Linked DNA regions of Homo sapiens: region 2 is linked to region 1. Evidence: promoter capture Hi-C in 16 types of primary human blood cells and fetal thymus (Javierre and others, 2016). All regions are on one chromosome and are shown on one strand. Each heading gives the region's core, a stretch centred on a gene start or on the middle of the fragment in contact. The rest is flanking DNA. Distances are from core to core; before and after follow the strand shown.

The links. The method cuts DNA at HindIII sites, captures the fragments that hold promoters and counts their contacts. A CHiCAGO score of 5 or more calls a contact.
Region 2: the fragment with the promoter of ZNF714 here is called in contact with the fragment with the promoter of PBX4 in region 1 in 1 of 17 cell types (M0 macrophages); the score reaches 5.1 in M0 macrophages.

What each region holds. Positions count from the first base shown.
Region 1 is chr19:19,616,042-19,622,964 of GRCh38, reverse strand. PBX4 (PBX homeobox 4) reads left to right here and starts at 4,278. Exons shown (of 8, transcript NM_025245.3): 1 at 4,278-4,454. The coding sequence starts at 4,336. RefSeq lists a silencer at 4,287-4,496. The HindIII fragment of the contact is 7,939 bases long and covers 2,319-6,923 here.
Region 2 is chr19:21,079,253-21,086,175 of GRCh38, reverse strand. ZNF714 (zinc finger protein 714) reads right to left here and starts at 3,973. Exons shown (of 5, transcript NM_182515.4): 1 at 3,828-3,973; 2 at 2,107-2,198. RefSeq lists an enhancer at 3,485-3,634. The HindIII fragment of the contact is 3,534 bases long and covers 2,530-6,063 here.

The DNA of each region.
Region 1 (6,923 bases), core at 3,029-5,528:
GGTCTCGAACTCTTGACCTCAAGCGATCCACCTACCCACCTTGGCCTCCCAAAGTGCTGGGATTATAGGCATGAGCCACCACGCCTGGCCCCTCTCTCTTACTGGGGTCTTGAATCTGTTTCTCTCTGCTTCTGTTCTTTGTTTCCCCCATCTGTTGCTCTGCCTCCATCTCACTGCCTGTCTCCCTGTCTTTCTCTGCAGCTCAGAGTAGTGTCTGGACCCTATGAGCCCCCTCCCTCCCCACTGCCCTTTTGTTTGAGCCCTGATGGTTCAAGGTCACGTGCCCAGCCGTTTCTATCCCATTCCCCACCACCTGTATTCATACTTCCAGCCACAGGTTGTGGGGTTCAGGTAGTGGGATGCAGGATTTGAGCATGACCATTTCTCAAGCTCTTCTGATGTGCCTGGCATACTGGTAAACACTTTAGGTGCTTTTTTTTTTAAATTTTTTATTTTTTTGTGATGGAGTGTCACTCTGTCCTCCAGGCTGGAGTGTAGTGGTGCAATCTCGGCTCGCTGCAACCTCCGCCCCCGGGTTTCAAGCGATTCTCCTGCCTCAGCCTCCCAAGTAGTTGCGATTACAGGCACCTGCCACCGTGCCCGGCTAATTTTTGTATTTTTGTTAGAGATGGGGTTTCACCATCTTGGCCAGGCTTATCTTGAACTCCCGACCTTGTGATCCACCCGCCTCGGCCTCTCAAAGTGCTGGGATTACAGGCATGAGCCACTGTGCTGGGCTTTTTTTTTTTTTTTTTTTTGAGACGGAGTCTTGCTCTGTTTCCCAGGCTGGACTGCAATGACGTGATCTCAGCTCACTGCAACCTCTGCCTCCCAGGTTCAAGTGATTCTCCTGCATCAGCCTCCCGGGTAGCTGGGATTACAGGGATATGCCACCACACCCAGCTAAATTTTTTATTTTTAGTAGAGATGGGGTTTCACCATGTTGGCCAGGCTGGTCTCGAACTCCTGACCTCAGGTGAGCCGCCCGCCTCAGCCTCTCAAAGTGCTGGGACTATAGGCGTGAGCCGCCATGCCTGGCCTTTTTTTTTTTTTTTTTTTTTTGAGACAGAGTCTCACATGATCTCAGCTCACTGCAACCTCCGCCCCCTCCAGGTTCAAGCGATTCTTCTGCCTCAGCCTCCCAAGTAGCTGGGACTACAGGCATGCACCACCATGTCTGGCTAATTTTTTGTATTTTAATAGAGATGGGATTTCACCATATTGGCCAGGCTGGTCTTGAACTCCTGACCTCATGATCCGCCTGCTTTGGCCTCCCAAAGTGCTGGGATCAGTCTTTCTGATTTTTATGTGAGAACACTGATTCAGACAGGTTGTGATCTGGCCCATGGTAAACACAGCTTGGAGATGGCACATACAGGCCCCGAGGGACCAGAGAGGCCCCTAGGAAAGGGACTTCAGATTCCCACGAAGCCCAGGGTTGGTCCCAAGCTCAGCTGGGCTTTCCCTACCTCACCCCACAGCACCCAACCCATGAGTGCCAGATCCATCATGAGCCCCCTCTGAGATGCTCAGGGAGGCCCCCTCCAAGGCACAGTGTGTGCCAGGATGTCATTCTCTGCTCCCACCTCACCAGTGAGGAGGTGGGGTTATGTCCCTACTTTTGAATCCCATGCTGAATAACAGCTAGAATTTGAACCCAGGTCACTCAGAGATGTGAGCCGCCATGCCCAGCCACCTGTGCCAAATTCTTAAACCACTGAAATATGCATTGTCAAAGAACCCAAAACTCCCAGGTCCTTCTATATTAAATGGCCCTGGCCGAGCACTTTGAGTGCCAAGGCTGCCAACTAATTTCTATGCAGTAGAGACCCCTGATGACCTCCAAATGGCAACAGTGGGACGGGTGAGGTGGCTCATACCTGTAATCCCAGCACTTTGGGCGGCCGAGGCAGGCAGATCACCTGAGGTCAGAAGTTTGAAACTAGCCTGGCCAACATGGTGAAACCTCATTTCTACTAAAAATGCAAAAATTAGCCGGGCGTGGTGGTGGGTGCCTGTAAGCTACTCAGGAGGAGGCTAAGGCAGGAGAAGTGCTTGAACCCAGGAGGTGGAGGTTGCAGTGAGCCAAGGTCACGCCACTACACTCCAGCCTGGGCAACAGAGTAAGATTTCTGTCTAAAAAAAAAAAAAAAAAAAAAAGGCAACTCTGTCTCAGGCGCTCTGAGCTGGCTGTTCACATCAGCTCCTCCAGGTTTTAACCTGCACCCCGTGGGTCTCCTTCGAGACCATTTCCTCTTGTCGATCTCCCGTCTCCACCAAGTGGCTTCAAATTTTTGTCTCTGCTGGTCCCTGAAGCTTTCAGTGCCCACCCCTCCAAGTTCTCTGAAGGATACTACTTTGTTGGGGTTGGGGGCAGGTTTTGCTCTCTCACCCAGGCTGGAGTGCAGTGGCACAAACACAGCTCACTGTAGCCTCGACCTCCTGAGCCCAACTTATCCTCCCGCCTCAGCCTCCCAAGTAGCTGGGACCATGACCAGCTAATTTAGCTATTTTTTTAATTTTTATTTTTGTAGAGATGGGGTCTCACTATGTTCCCCAGACTGGTCTTGAACTCCTGGGCTCAAGTAATCTCCCACCTCAGACTCCCAAAGTGTTGGGATCATAGGTGTCAGCCACTGCACCCAGCCTGAAGGCCACTACTGTTCAGGCCTCCTGGGCAGTGCTGTGCTTGTGGGTGACCTTTTGAACAGGCACTGGTCTCCGTGGCTCCCATGCAATCTATTACTTTCTGTCATTGGAGCCAAGTGTCGGTTTCCTTCATCAGAGAGCTTTCCCTATTGTCCAGACACTCGGTCAATGTCTTTCATTTTTCACTCCCTGCCGTCCCCTTTGGAGTCTCCCGACGCTCTCCAATCCAGCCATACCAGATGGTGTTTGAATTTCCTCCCCAGCAGCAATGGAGAGAACGTGGGCCCCACCCTGGAAGGGCTCCCAGCCAGCAGGCTGAGGACCTTTTACTGAGCCCACATCTGGAGACTGTCCTCATAGCAAATAGGCTCCAGGAGGTTCTGTGACTTTGGAGAAGAGATTCATGTCCAGGCCATTACTTTTTTTTTTTTTTTTTTTTTTTGAGACCTGGTCTCCGTCAACCAGGCTGCAGTGCAGTGGTGCAATCATGGCTCACTGCAGCCTCAAATTCCCAGGCCCAAGTGATCCTCCCACTTCAGCCTCTCAAGTCCCAAATAGCTGGGACCACAGGCGTGCACCACCACGGGGTCTCACTATGTTGCCCAAGCTGGTCTCAAACTCCCGTGCTCAAGTGATCCTCCCGCCTCTGCCGCCCAAAGTGCTAGGATTACAGGCATGAGCCACCGCCCAGTTCCTTTTCTTGTGCACTAGGAGCCTTCGATGCTGTGTCCTAAGGACTAGAAACAAAGATGTGAGGATTCGCTCTGATTTGGGGTACACTGCAGGGGAGTCTCTCAGTAAACATCCTTCCTTCATTCGGTAACCACGTGGTAGCATTTTCTATGCCCAGAACTGTAATCTGCGAAGATGAATAAACAAGCGAGGTCACTCTTCAGCTGGACCTTGAAAGGTGACTGGAATTGATTTCTGCAGTGGAGAAAAGCGCTGCGTTCTGACCTCCTCGTTGCCATCAACCACGCACGCCTGCGCCCCGCCTTAGCCAGGTGAACGGGGCGTGGAAAGCTCTAGAGGAAGAGCCAGGGGCCCCAGTGGCCCACCTGATGGGGCTGAGGATGCAGGGAGCATTAGGGGGACTGAGCAGGGGTCTGGGGCTTGGGGCTTCTGGAAATGAATGGGGGCTGTCGATCAAGCTATAAGAGGTGTGGGGTTCTGAGGAGGAGGGGGTGGCTTGGAGGAAGAGTTGGGGTGCTCTGGGGAGTGAGGGTCTCTGAGGACCGAGGGCTTTGAGGAGAAGGGGGCCCTGAGGAGGAGCAGGAACTCTGAGGAGATGCGAGTGGGGCTGAAGGAGGCGTGCACCGCGCGAGATGTGAGGGATGGGGGCCTCTGGCTGGAGCGGAGCCAGCGCTGCCCTCTCTCAAGGGGAAGGAGGGCGCTTATGAGAAGTGCCGTTGCCTCGGCAACCCCAAACCCAGTCCAAGCCCGGAGAGGGGGAAGTTCGGGGCGAGTCCCGGGGGCGGTGCGTGGCGCCGGTTGGCTGACGGAGATGAAGGGGCGTGTCTGTAGGCGGTGCAATACACGGGTTGGCTGGCGATAGCGGCGGTGGGCGTGGCTTAGGCGCGAGCGAGAGCGGGCGCGGCGCTCAGGCAGCGGCGGTTGGCTGCGGCGCCAGTGGTAGTGCTCCAGGCTCGACGGCACCCTCACAGCGCCCGCCCGGCCCTGCCGCTCATGGCCGCCCCGCCGCGCCCCGCGCCATCGCCCCCCGCCCCGCGGCGCCTCGACACGAGCGACGTCCTGCAGCAGATCATGGCCATCACCGACCAGAGCCTGGACGAGGCACAGGCCAGGTGCTGCCCGCGGGCTCGGCAGGGGCCACGCAGGGTCGTGGCAGTGAGGTTGGCGGGCTGAGGGGACGGGGCGTGGAGGCCAGACTGACGAGGGGCGCTTGAGGAGGGCTGGAGGGGGGTCCCGAGGACGAAGGGATGTATGGGGTTCAAACGGAACGGGCTGGATAGGCCTTATGGGGCCGAGCAGTGGCGTGAAGGATTTTCAGCAGCTCATCTTGGGGCGAGAAGGTTGGGTTTAGGGGTTTAGGGAGTAGGGCTGAGAAATGGGCACGTACGGGACTTTTGACGAGTGAATGACTAAATGGGTACGTTAATGGGACTCCTGCGGCTGGAAGTTTTTTTGTTGTTGTTTGACACGGTCTTGCTCTGTCGCCCAGGCTGGAGTGCAGTGGCGTGATCATGGCTCACTGCAGCATCCACCTCCCCGGCTCAGTTGATTCTCCTGCCTCAGCCTCCCGAGTAGCTGGGACCACAGGCGCACGTGCAACCACGCCCGGCTGATTTTTTTGTATATTTTGTAGAGACAGGGGTCTCGCTATAGTTGCTTAAACTCCTGGGTTCAAGCACTCATTCCGTCTCGGCCTCCCTAAGTGCTGGGATTACAGGCGCGAGCCACCGAGCCCGGCCTGTGGGTGGGAAGTTTCCAGGGCAGATGATGGAGAGTGAGTGGCTGGGAATGGGACTCAGGAATGTCTGCAGGAGACTGAAGAACTGAACTGGGGTAACTTGGTGTGGGAACCATCGAGAACTTTTGGGAAAAGGGTTAGTAGAGGAGTGGGTGGAGATGGAAGACCTATTTTCTTTTTAATGAATTCAGCAAATTTTTATTGAATCCTTACAATAACTGGATAGGGAACCGGGTGCTGACATAGTCCCTGCTCTCGAGTACATGATTTAGGGGAGGGAATGTAAATAGCAAAAAATAAGGACTGGGTGGAGTGGCTCACATCTCTAATCACAGCACTTTAGGAGGCTGAGGCAGGAGGATTGCTTGAGCTCAGGAGTTCGAGACCAACCTGGACAATGTAGTAAGACCTCGTCTCTACTAAAAATAAAATTAAAAAATTAGTTAGGTGTGATGATGCAAGCCTGTAGTCCCAGCTACTTAGGAGGCTGAGGCTGCAGTGAGCCGAATCAAGCCATTGCACTCCAGCCTGGGTGACAGAGCTAGACCCTGTCTCAAACAAAAGCAAAAAAGTATAAGCCAGGCATGGTAGCATGGGTAGGTAATCCCAGCTGCCTCCCAGTGGGAGGATCACTTGAGTCCAGCAGTTTGAGACCAGCCTGGGCAACATAGTGAGACCATCCTGTACCAATCTGAGAAAAGAAAAAAATAAAATAAATGGCAATAAAAGCTGTAGGGATAGGGGTTGCATGCTATAGGAAGCCAGGTGGAGAAGAACATCTTTGGAGAGGACAGCACCTTCAGAGGCCCTGAGGTGGGAAAGAGGATGTAAAAAGCGGAGTCTGGCTGGGAAGAGAAAGTTCCTAGCCAGGGAGGGAAAGAGTTGAGTTTAAAGGAAGGCTGGGGCCAGGTGCGGTGGCTCACGCCTGTAATCCCAGCACTTTGGGAGGCCAAGGCAGGTGAATCACGAGGTCAGGAGTTCAATACCAGCCTGGCCAACATGGTGAAACCCAGTCTCTACCAAAAATACAAAAATTAGCTGGGTGTAGTGGTGCACACCTATAATCCCAACTACTTGGGAGGCTGAGGCAGGAGAATCACTGGAACCTGGGAGGCGGAGGCTGCAGTGAGCCGAGATCACACCACTGCACTCCAGCCTGGGCGACAGAGCGAGATTCCGTCTGAACAAAAAATAATAATAATAATAAAGGGAGACTGGAACCCAATTACATGGGGCCTACGAATCTCAGTAAAGAGTTTTGTTTGTTCAGCCAGGCACAGTGGCTGACACCTGTAATCCCTGCACTTTGGGAGGCCAAGGTGGGCAGATCACCTGAGGTCAAGAGTTCGAGACCAGCCTGGCCAACATGGCAAAACCCCATCTCTACTAAAAATACGAAAATTAGCTGGGCGTGGTGGTGCATGTCTATGGTCCCAGCTACTTGGGAGGCTGAGGCAGGAGAAACACTTGAATCCAGGAGGTGCCTGGGTTCAAGCGCCACTGCATTCCAACCTGGGCGACAGAGTGAGACTCTGTCTCCATAAAAAAATAGTTTTGTTTTTGTCATCTGGATAACAATCAATAGGGAGTTCGGACTATTTATTCCAGTTGCAATGGGGAAAAATAAAGGAGTTTTTAGACCTCCCATCCCGTTTACCTCCACTCACCACTTGTCAGCCAGCCAGGATCCGTAGAATCTGCTTCACAAGGCAGCCCACTGTGTCTGGGTCCTGCAGTGATTATTACAGAAAAGGAAAGGAAAGGACTGAAGTCCTTTTGGAGGATGAGGCCTTGTTGAATGGGGACTGTTGTAAGGTGAGGGACGGTCTCTGGGTATGGGACT
Region 2 (6,923 bases), core at 2,724-5,223, 1.5 Mb before region 1:
ATAAAATTTTTCACAGGCCCCAGAACTTTAAACTATTCTCAGTCTGAGTCAACATAAAATCTCATTTTATGTCTCTTCTAAGAACATGCTGATTTCATGGTAAAACATTCTCTGATTTAAAATCTGACTTTTCACCCTTCATTTGCCATTGCTCTCCTGCCTTCTTTCTAATCTTGTTTGCTGCTCCCTAGGAAAGAAAGCCCTTGTTGGCCTAAACTATGCAATCCTTAAAATTTTTATAGTTGGTACTTTTTCCTGTTGCAATACTCCTTTGGAATTCTTTTTTTTTTTTTTACATAAACCTAACTTTGTTTGATATTCCAAAGCCTAGAAACTGCCTCAAAACAATAACAACTTTATCATCAGTAAGACCCTCTCAGTCCCCTTTCATCTTAACCTTAACTGCATTTGCCTGTGGGTCCTCAGCTTTCCAGGGCTCTGTCAGCAGAAAGGCTTCTTCCATGGCTGGGGTGAGCAGACTGGACATCTGCAGGGGAGCATCCCCCATAAATAAACTAGCTGGTCCTTTAATAACCTCCTTTTGTAGGCTCAATATTAGCCTTAGCTCTGAGACACTGGGCTCAAGCTTTAGTTTCCATGTTAGAGTTACTCACTTGGTTTTTGAAACTACGTGTTTGAAAAATCCAGCAAAATTACTCAAACACAGTGTTCATATAAGGGAAGGAAATTTTAAGGTACTTACATTTTATACCTCAATAAAAAAAGCAAAAGTATCTACTCCTTTATGAAAATATATCTATTATTGTATTGTTTTCATTAAAAATCATGTAGTAAACAATTAGTCATATGGGAACACTTCTAGGTGGTACCAAGTTTCATCTCATAAAATGTAGCATGAAACTCAGAAATCAAGATAACAGGATGTGAACACAGATATTCACTGTCAAAAATCCTATCCTGCAGATAGAGCAACTGATGTTTTCATGAATCTATGTTTACTCACCAATTATCTACCACATTTTCTTATGGACATGTATTCATTTTCTACAGCCAAAATAGAATAGAGATTTTCCCTATTCTTTTCCTCGGTAGCTAGCATTCTAAAAGCTGAGCCTTGAAATTCTGTTTGAATTCACCTAGCCATAAAAAACAAACACACCTGAGAAACCTTTTAAACTCACTCTGGGAAAGAAAAAGGTAAATGAGAATTTTTAACAAATGGAATATATAATTAAGCATTAATTTCTTTTTCTAAAACCCATCTCTTTTATGCCCTTTGTAAATATTTTCCTGCTGGCCGGGCGTGGTGGCTCACACCTGTTATCCCAGCACTTTGGGAGGCCAAGGAGGGCAGATCATCTGAGGTCAGGAGTTTGAGACCAGCCTGGCCAGCTGAGGCAGGAAAATCACTTGAACCCAGGAGGTGGAGGTTGCAGTGAGCCGAGATCATACCACTGCACTCCAGCCTGGGCAACAAGAGTGAAACTGTCTCAAAAAAAAAAAAAAAAAAAATTTCCTACCTTTCAAGCCCTACTAATATAATGCAATTTACAGCTAAAAAACTGAGGTCAAAATAAGTGAACAAATCTCTTCAAGGTGACAAATCCAGAAGTGGCAATGATGGTTAAATAACAGATGTGTGTGACTCATGTTTCAAGTCAGGCTATTCAGTCACTTGAGAGATTCTTCCACCCACTCCTACTCACTTATGTGCTCAAGAAGCACCCATTCAGGAGACACTGCAGTATTTCTCGGTGGCTGCTCCAGAGGCATTTTACTTTGCAAGCTCTTACACCATCTCAGTTAACCTTGCTGATGGCTATGGGTGACAGAATTAGGCATCTACAAGACCATAGGACATGGGGATCTTTTTCTTCTCCAAAAGGGAAAACTTAAGTGCTAATGGAACTGCTGGAAAAAATCCTGACTGCTGGAGTCAGGTTTTTTGTGTTTTTTGTTTGTTTGCTTGATTTTTTTTTTCTTTTTTGGTCTTTTGGGATACTATTTTTTCTGTCACAATTTTTTTTTCTTTTTAACACTATTTTTTCTTTCACTACATTTATTTCATTATATTTCTACCCCTTAGACAATCCAGGAGGCAGATGTTATTTCTGTGTTTTCCCCTCAGTACCAGCATCTGATTACCTTTTCAAAGTAAGAGTACACTAGAAGCTTCCTCTCTGCCCCAGGGATCCACTTGCTCCCTTGAGAGGATACACTCCAGACCTCAGGTCGCCCTATGGAAGAAAATAAACCAGAAGCTGATATTCACTAGGCACTTTAGCTGACATAACCATGGTGGATATCTTGGTTGATCCCCAGACAGTACTGAAACCCACGACCAGAAAAAAACTAAAGGGTGGCTGAGGACACATCACCTCATAAAGGTTTCAAAGGAATACCTTGACCCAAAAACATTCTGACAAGATCTTTGTACCTAGAGAAGATACAAGGAGAAGAGGCACAGAGAAATTTTACAATACAGTGTCAGGGGATTATTCTTTGCTTTCTTCTCATGGGAAAGTTACAAACAGGTAACAAACCTTTTAAAAAGCGTCATTTAAAGCTTTGTCAAAAAATAATTAATTAAAATATGGTATACAAAAGTACACTAAAAGACAAACAGGTGATAACGTGAATTAGGGAGGAAAAGCTGGCATTAGGGAATGCCAGGAGGAACTGGAAATTTAATATCTTACTGCAAGCCAGAGTGAGGCTGGAGATATGGGGGACGGGAGGTTAGATTTAAGACAGTGCTTGGGACACAGTTGAAAAATGCACCAGAAAATCAGTTCCCCATGGAGTGTGAAAATAATTAAGCGGCGGGAAATTAGACTGAGGTGTCTCTAGTCCCTGGATTCCTACTTTTAAAAAAATCTGGCTGGGCGCGGTGGCTCACGCCTGTAATCCCAGCACTTTGGGGAGGCCGTGGAGGGCAGATCACCTGAGGTCGGGAGTTCGAGACCAGCCTGACCAACATGCAGAAACCCGTCTCTACTAAAACCACAAAATTAGACGGGCGTGGTGGCGCATGCCTGTAATCCCAGCTACCTGGGAGGCTGAAGCATTGGATCGCTTGAACCCGGGAGGCAGAGGTTACGGTGAGACAAGATCGCCCCATTGCACTCCAGCCTGGGCAACAAGAGCGAAACTCCATCTTAAAAAAAAAAAATCTAACTGAGGTGCATTTTTAGTAAATTACTACATTGAGAGAAACAAAATTCATCCTTAACCAACTATAAACTGCCAATTAACATCTAATTACATAACCAGGAAATTTTCACCTTTATTTTACAAATTAAGAAACTATGTATCTGAACCTAACCAATTACTGAATTTGGTTTTCTTCATCATGCTGTTTATAAAAGTCTTTACTTCAAGCCCCGCCCATAAACCATAAATTACAAACCACAGCTGGGTGCTCCACAATTTTTGAATCACGCTTTGATTAAATGCTTTAGTGTTTTAACGGTGACTCCCATACATTTTCAACAGAAGAGGAACTGGAACCCCACGGACCCATTCATAAACCCGCACCCCGAGTCAGGATTCTACCCCTGGGACCCTCCAGTGGTCCCTGCACAATCCGGGAGAGACGCGCCGCTGAGGGTCCAGAGCTGCCCTGAGAGGACTCCAGGTCAGGGCCCAGTCACTGCGCAGGGAAAAGACAGGACGCCCGGGATCCCGCAGTCAGCGCAGCCGCCATCTTATGGCTGAAGGGGACTGAGGCCGAGCTGAGCAAGGAGAACTCCGGGCGCAGATTGTAGAGTTGACTGCGGGGAGGCCTAAGTCCCACCACAGCCACTTCCCACCGCTTACAACCCGCCCCTTCCCCTCTCTCGGGATGTCGGACCCGGCACTCTCACCATTTCTAGGCTTCCGGGGTACCTGGCGTCTTAGCTGTGGATCTCTCAATACCTGCAGGTCACAGGGCCACAGAGGCTGGGCCTCTGCGAGCAGAGGACACAGGGCAGTGAAGGCGAGACCTGCAGCTCCAGCTGCAGCGAGAGACAAAGGCCCCGCCACATCCCCGAAGCCGTCCTGTCCGCTCCAGCTGCAGGCCTGATTGGACGGTTCCCAACCCAGCGTCGCTGATTGGATAACTTTTAAAACCCCACCTTCTCGTGCCCTGAGTGACAGAAGATGTGATCAGTTGCTGGGCTGAGTGAAGAAAGGGTGACAGCCTAGGCTGCAGCCTTCTCAGGCAGGGCTTCCTCCCAGAGCTGAGCCAGGCCCACCCCAGAGGGAATTTGCCTTTAAACTTGTGTGTAAAGTCATATGCATTTATAAATAATATATGGCTCTTCACAAAGGAAAAAATATAATTTTATAATAACAATTATTTTAAAATTTCAGATTTTATGACCTTCCTGGCTTCTTTCTGGTCTTTGAGCAGGCAGGCTGAGATTTTAGAAAGGAGGTAATCCTCTGAAATAAAATGTGAGCCATATGTGAATTTTAAGTTTTCTAGTAGCCAAACTTGAAAAAGAAACAAGAACAGGTTGAATTGATTGTAACAATTTAATTAACCCAATATATCAAAAAAATTTTCATTTTAATGTGTGAGAAATATGTAATTATTAATAAAGTATATAAATATTTGGAACTAAATCTTTGAAACTAACTCTGTATTTTACCTTTCTAGCATCGCACTTCAGACCAGGCGCCACACATGGCCAATAACTGCCACATTGAAGTGCAGCTCTGATGTCAGCGGTGTGAAGGGCCCAAGCAAACCTTTTCTGCCAGAGGTGAAGGAAGAGCCTCTCCCTACCAACATCTCTCTTCCGTTCCGGGGGTGGAACAGATAGTGGCCAAAGAAAGAGGAGACGGCAGCAGGAATAAAATAATTACAAGTAAAGCACTGCTGGATGAGATCACAGGCGCGCGCCACCATGCTCGGCTAATTTTTTGTATTTTTAGTAGACACGGGGTTTCACCATGTTGGCCAGGCTGGTCCTGAACTCCTGACCTCAGGTGATCTGCCCGCTTTGGCCTCCCAAAGTGTTGGGATTACAGGCGTGAGCCACCGCACCCAGCCTCAAAATGTTTTTTCTTTCTTTTTTTTTAATTTTAAAAAATGATGGGAACATGTCAAAGGGAGCCAGCCTGAAAGAACTCCCAATGGTCCATCCTGGAACAATGTTAGCATCCAAATGAATAATTAGAGCACTGACCTATAAAATAAATCAAGTCAAATAAATAAATACCCATGCATTTACACTGATACACAAAAAACTTTAAATAAATAAAAAAGAAAAAAGGATAGGGAAATTTTTTTTTACAGAATTCCAAATACTAATCAACATAGATAAAATGCTAAAGAAACCATCACAAAACCACCAGTTATTATTGTATCCAAGGTTAACTGAGGAGTGTAAAAATTGTAAATAACACTTAAAAAATAAGCATTGTATTTGCATAGCACCAAAGTATCTGACTAAATTGTACCCTTCAGTTTTAAAGCAACCTATCACTATTAAAAGCAACAATTATGACTCTTTGTTACTGGATTTATAATATGTAGATGTAAAATTGTAAAAGCACCACAAAAGATCAACGAATAAAATAGAATCGCCCAGGCACGGTGGCTCACGCCTGCAATCCCAGCACTTTGGGAGTCCGAGGTGGGTGGATCAAGAGGTCAGGAGTCCGAGACCATCCTGGCTAACAAGGTGAAACCCTGTCTCTACCAAAAATACAAAAACTTACCTGGGTGTGATGCCGCACGCCTGTATTCCCAGCTACTCGGGGGGCCGAGGCAGGAGAATCGTTTGAACCCGGGAGGCGGAGGTTACAGTGAGCCGAGATCGCGCCACTGCACTCCAGCCTGGCGACAGAGGGAGACTCTGTCTCAAAAAAAAAAAAAAAAAAAAAAAGAGCTGCCTGGGCAACATAATAAGACCCCATCTCTACAAAAAAAAAAAAAAAAAAAAAAAATTAATTAGCCACTGTAGTGGTGTGTACGTGAAGTCCCATTTACCAAGGAGGCTGAGAGCTAAGAATTTTGAGGTTTGATTGAGCTGCACTCTGGCCAAGATGACAGAGCTGTCTACAAATACATACACACATGTGTAAAATATAACACTTTTTTAAAAAGCTTGCAAGTTCTTTTATGATCCCGTGTCTGTGCATTACTGTAATAATATGGATTAGAAGCAGAATAACTGTATCCAATATGGAGTTTGAGAGAAAACAGAAATATATCATCTGTACTTCAGGTGTCCTGATAAGGATCAGCGGAGGGTTCTGCCCTCTGACTTTATCTCTACTAAATGCATGAGAGGCAGAGTTTTTTTGTTTTGTTTTTTGTTTGTTTGTTTGTTTGTTTTGAGACGGAGTCTCGCTCTCTCACCCACGCTGGAGTGCAGTGGCACAATCTCAGCTCACTGCAAGCTCCGCCTCCCGGGTTCACGCCATTCTCCTGCCTGAGCCTCCGGAGTAGCTGGGACTACAGGCGCCCGCCACAACGCCCGGCTACTTTTTTGTCTTTTTAGTAGAGACGGGGTTTCACCATGTTGGCCAGGCTGGTCTCTAACTGCTGACCTCGTTATCCGCCTGCTTTGGCGTCCCAAAATGTTGGGATTACAGGCGTGAGCCACCGCACTCGGCGAGGCAGAGTTTTTAACATAATTTTTTTTTTTTTTTTTTTTTTTTTGAGACGGAGTCTCGCTCTGTCACCCAGGCTGGAGTGCAGTGGCTCGATCTCGGCTCACTGCAACCTCCGCCTCCCAGGTTCAAGCGATTCTCCTGCTTCAGCCTCCAAAGTAGCTGGAACTATGGGCACGCGCCACCACGCCCAGCTAATTTTTTTTTGTATTTTTAGTAGAGACGGGGTTTCACAATGTTGGCCAGGATGGTCTCGATCTCTTGACCTCGTGATCTGCCTGCCTCGGCCTCCCAAAGTGCTGGGATTACAGGCGTGAGCCACTGCGCCCGGCCAACATAAATGATTTTAACAC